Linked DNA regions of Homo sapiens: region 2 is linked to region 1. Evidence: promoter capture Hi-C in 16 types of primary human blood cells and fetal thymus (Javierre and others, 2016). All regions are on one chromosome and are shown on one strand. The core of a region is centred on a gene start or on the middle of the fragment in contact, and the rest is flanking DNA. Distances in the headings are between cores, read along the strand shown. Region 1 holds the start of DIAPH2 (diaphanous related formin 2). Region 2 overlaps DIAPH2 (diaphanous related formin 2).

Region 1 (2,700 bases), core at 51-2,550:
ATCTGGACTAAGAATACAGCTCTAAGGAGTATCTGCTGAATTTGTACAGGAAAACCCTTTCCCCTCACACCACCCAAATTAGAAAGTTTACAAAAAGCGGAACCCTTCTGATGAGCTGAGGAAACTCCAGTATTTCCCAATGCAATACCAGGCCTCATCGATTTCATTCCTCTGCACATTCAGTGGCAGGAAATGGACTGCTACCATCGGTTCACACTATCAGCACGGTGAGATTTGCACAGTTTGTGCCTACTGCTTTTGAGCGTTCTTAATCAACTAAGTGGAAGTACTGTATGACTATGCCTATTACACACACTCGACAGTTGGTGGTACCTCACCCAGCCTCAAACTCCCACGCGCCCCCACCCTTCCAAAGAAACATTTCTTGGGAGAGCACATGGAGAGAGGCAAGGAGGAGGAAAAAGGCACGTAGGCGCCTCTTCCTGAGATTTCTGGTAAAGTAGAAAGACTGGGAGCATAAATAGTGTTCTTCTTGATTTGCGAAGCTGTAGGTGGGCTCCCAAGGACTTGGAATAAAAAGGAGGGAGGTTCCCCTGCCCCGGACCCTACGCGTTAGGAGGCAAAACAGCAACTAACAAGAAGTGGGAGGAGAATGGAATCGCGCAAAGGTTTGCGCCCACAAGTTAGACAAACAACAGCCCTACCCAGTACTCGGGGTGTCCCCAAGTTGGGGCTGGGCCTTTCTCCTTCCCGCACCGCCTCCCGGGCTGACAAGAGTGAGAAAGGGGTTAAGTAGAGAAGGGGGTGCTCTTCCGCCCCCACGCCGTCTCCGCGCCTCGGCGTGGCCACTCCTTTAGCGGCTCCCCGAGTTGCACAGCGAGGTCGCGGTCATCCTTGGGAGGGGGCCCCGGGTGCCCCCGTGTTCAATGGCAGGAGGATCCCGGGGCTCTCCCTGTCCCTAAGGCCGGCGGGGGCTGCGGGAGCACTCACCAATTTGGGTTTGTTTTTCGTTTCCTCTTCATTGGCGGCCCGGTTCCCCGCGCTCCGCTTGTTGCTCCGGCCCCCACCGGGTTCCTCGCTGCCGCCTCCCGCTCCCGACGCCGCCGCCCCGGGCTGCTCCATCTTTCTCCGGCCCTGTCACCTGTGCCCTGTAACCCCACCTCTCCTCAACTGAGAAAGCACCTCGGGGCGCTCACACTGCCCCGCGCTGACTCGGCGGCACCTCTTCCTGAGGGAGAGAGTGTCTGCCCGGGAAGCTGCCGATTTCAGGCCCCCGGGACTCCAGGCTCCCAGGCACCCCCGACGCAACCACGCCGTTGCCACTACTCGGCGCTGGGGCAAGCCCTGCCCCTGAGCAGTTGCAATTACCACGGTCGCCGCCGCCCTCAGGGCGGTGTTTAGGGTGGAGGGAAAAGTAGGTGCCTATCTCTTTAAGAGGGCCTCAACACACGTGATTCTTCAAAGTGCCCGCATCGGCCGCCCGGGCGCGCAAAGCTGCTTCCTACTCCCGCAGCCGAGCCGGCCCCAGCTACTGAGCATGCCCGGCGCGGTGACTGGAGCCTAACAGAGCACTTTCAGCTGCGGTTAGGCACTGATTTCACTTCCTAGTGGCCCAGCGAGAACAGGGAGGGAACTAGTCAAGAGAAAGGAAGGGTAGCCCATTTTAGAGATGGGGAAACTGAGGCCCGGGAAGATCCGCCTGTAAGTTTCACTGGCGGGTCAACCTGAGTATCAGCTTTCACTTCTGTGGGCCACAGCACCTTCCCTCCCTGAGGCCTCTCCGGGGGTGTGGTCCTGCTACAGTCTGTGGAAAGACTTGATTGGCAAGGGAACTGGCATCCTATAGGAAAACCACCGGGAGTGCTGATTAATTGCCTCGACAGACTGTGTGTGGGTCAGAGTGGAAAGAGTGAGTGCTTTCTGTTGTCGTGATTACGTTGTGACCGAAGAAATACAGTTGTTCCTTTATTCCCTTGCTGCAGGGTTGTTGAAGCAGCAGGCGCCCACCGCTTAATCCCTAGGGGATTGTTAGGTTCTATAACCAAAACACTTACATACAGCTAGCAATTGAATTGAGTGCTATTTTCAGGTTCCCGAACTAGTTTAGAGTTGTTGTGGGGAGTGAATAAGATCATGTGTGTCAAAGCTTTGTTGTAAATGAAAATCCCTAGACAAATGCTAGGTGTTTTTGTGCAGCAGCAGGGCACTGTTGGGACGATAGTCTTAAGTCCTTGCGTCATACCTAGCATTTTGTCCTCAGGACAAAATATAGTACCCACACTGTATTTCTTCCATCCTCTTTAAATGATGCCCTTTAAAAGTAAAGGTACACACTGAGAACATTAGACGGGGTGGGTAGGATTTGAATGAACCACCATCATAGAATAGGAGCACATATGCTAGGAAAGCTACCTATAAAGTAAATTTAAATATGAAATCTATAAACATGCCATACACCTATTACTGAAGATATCTCCAGACTATGACTCCTTTTGACCTTCTCCCCTTCGGCCTAAATTTAATATGCTGAATGGAATTTGTATCTGAACATATTTATTGAGAGTGCATTAGGATGCATTTGACCATGCTATAGGTGCAAGGAGACAGCTAACTTGGGCAGTAGAATGAAAAGAACACCAGATATCTGAAAACAGCTTTAATTCTAGCTTTGTCATTGTCATTAACTTTCTTTTTTTTTTAATTCTGAGACAGAGTTTCCCTCTTGTTGCCCAGGCTGGA
Region 2 (2,719 bases), core at 191-2,690, 310 kb before region 1:
AGATACTACAACGATAGCATCTCTAGGATGCATACATTTAAAAACATTTCTCAATATGCTATATCAACAGAACATAAATATGTGCACCTCTAAGTATAGATAACAAAAATACACAGAGGAATGTGATCTTTGTACAGACTAACCTAGGAATTTTCCATTCAAGTAATCACTGACATAAATAAAAGAGATAATCCCAAGATTTTTTTTACACTATATTCACATGTCTTATTAGGCCTTTAAAACAATTGTGTTTATAACCATCTCCTTAACGAGGTCAGAGGTGAGAAAAACTATCACCATGAAACAACTGCAACTCTTATTTTAGGTGGCAACAAATCTGACTGTTCGCAAAATATACTGCACTGATTAGGTGATAGGAAAGAGTTATAAATAAGAAAATAAGAATATATCCCAGCTTTACTTCATTGCTTTTATTTTGTGGCTTTACTAGTTTGGAATGTGATTTCACAGATCAAACTGTGGGTATCTAAGCTCAATATCGAATATCAAAAATACACTGAAATCAACATAATCATCAGTGCTTTTGGAATACCCACACAATTCCATCTCATCCAAATGCATGGCATATATACACAGTCATTGAGAATAATATAACTATAGCAATTCAAACTAAGTATCTATTAAATAAGGATTGTGACTGTGACCATTAAGTTTTGACACTTAACACACACTCTAATTAAGGCAATATTTAATGAACTAGTGGTAGTTACTAAGAAAAATAATGAGCAAAATCTGGCCTTATCATTAGACAATTTCTTAACAATTGTGACAGTATTGTCAGTGAGAATTCAACTACCTAGTTCATTTCTGTCAACATTTTACTGACAAAAATGCCCTAATAGAATCCTTGACCTTCAATAAAGAGTTTAAATGCATCAAGCACAAATCATTAAGTATTTTTCAAAAGCATACCATGGCAATTCTGACATTTTACAAGGTCATTTTTCAGAAGCATAAATGGATAAAGGTTTTACTCTGTAAAATTACTAACATAACTTTTATGAATTGTATGAAATTAAAATTAACTAGGTCAATCATATTCAATGTTTTCTTTGCTAGTATCAAAAACTGTGTGACAAAAGTAATTTAAATCAAAAATGGTCATTTCCACATTTCCAACCAACCATTATACTCCATTGTGAATGAAGCAATCTGAGGATGAAACTTACTGGAGAAACTTACTGGAGAATTAACTTTCAAAAGAACTGCTTTGAATTTCAGATTCTCAGCTATTTGTCTGACTGTATTTTATCTCTAGGTGAAGAGTAGAGATAAATAAGCATATAATGTAATGTGGCACTTCATAGAAATCTAGGGTGTAAATACAATGGAAACAAATTCAAGATTTGAGTTGTTAACCCTTTCTTTTTTTCAAGCCTAGTTATTTAAATAGGACTATCTGCTTTGATTAGGTTTGGATTTTATATGAATGCCTGATGTCACATTTTTTTAATATTAACTAGGATCCCAGACTCAGAAAATATACTCTTCATATATTCTTCTGAGCTACAATCTTCTACACATTACTGCCTATAAGACAGTAGCCTACAGCCACTTAACTGAGAAAAAAAAAAAGAAAATATACTCTTCAGGTATTAACTGCCTTAACCAATATTAGAGTGTATTCAAATAATTAATCTTTAGAGAGGGCTAAACTAACACATTTCATTCATTTGTCAACTGTCTCCTTTGTAAACTGTGATGTGTGTACTGCTGTAAGGTATTATATATTAATAAAATTTGCCAATTTTCCATAATAAATTGGACCCAATTTTATTTTGAAATGTGGCTGAGAATACCCAGTGAGGCTTCAACTACTGAATACCTTCAAAATCCTTAGCCTCAGCCCAGACTGGTCTGTGAGTTCCAGATCATATGCTTTGCTAGTTGCTGAACATCTCCAGCTGCTTATCATATTCAATAGGATTTAACAATTCATTCTTTCTTTCTCTTAACAAACGTTACATTCCTCCTGTATTATCTCAATGACTGACATCAACAGATACCTCCAATGGTCCTAAACTCCAAAGAATTCCAATCTGGCTTCCATCTACACTAAGTGTTAGAAAATAATGCATTAAGATCAATAACATTCTTGATACTGCCAAACCTAAAATATATTTGCTGCCTTTATCTGACTTTAAGCAATAATCTACACGACGAAACTAGTCCCTCCTTTCTTCCTGAAACAGTTTCTTCTCCCGGCATTTATTATATCATATTGTTCTTCATTTTGCCACTTCTTTGTTGGCATTTTCTTTGCTGGCTGCTCTTCCTCCCATTGGCCCTTCAAATGTTAGCATTCAGCAATTAATCCTGGGCCCTCTTTATTTTTCTCTTTCTACAGTTCTTCTTCAGGTAATTGATATGGTTAGGCTTTGTATCCTCACCAAAATCTCATCTTGAATTGTAATCCCCATAATCCCCACGTGTCAACTGAGAGACCAAGTAGAGGTAATTGAATCATGGGGGCAGTTTCACCCATGCTGTTCTCATGACAGTGAGTGAGTTCTCATGACATCTGAATAGTTTTATAAGGGGCTCTTCCTGCTTCTTTTGGCACTTCTCCTTCCTGCTGCCTTGTGAAGAAGGTGCCTTGCTTCCCCTTCACCTTCTGCCATGATTGTAAGTTTCCTGAGGCCTCCCCAGCCATGCTGAACTGTGAGTCAATTAAACCTCTTTCCTTTATAAATTACCC

Evidence for each region. Contacts are between HindIII fragments. The CHiCAGO score rates a contact against its expected background, and 5 or more counts as called.
Region 2: a contact is called between a fragment that was not itself captured here and the fragment with the promoter of DIAPH2 in region 1, in 2 of 17 cell types (monocytes and total B cells). The highest score is 5.5, in monocytes.

Annotation. Positions count from the first base shown.
Region 1 is chrX:96,683,442-96,686,141 of GRCh38, reverse strand. It overlaps DIAPH2 (diaphanous related formin 2), which reads right to left and starts at 1,300. Exons shown (of 27, transcript NM_006729.5): 1 at 952-1,300. The coding sequence starts at 1,083. RefSeq lists enhancers at 83-796, 797-1,512. The HindIII fragment of the contact is 2,760 bases long and covers 1-2,109 here.
Region 2 is chrX:96,994,620-96,997,338 of GRCh38, reverse strand. All of the region lies in intron 17 of DIAPH2 (diaphanous related formin 2), which reads right to left. Among named protein-coding and RNA genes, the nearest start is that of RPA4, 110 kb to the right of the region's middle. The HindIII fragment of the contact is 3,003 bases long and covers 1-2,719 here.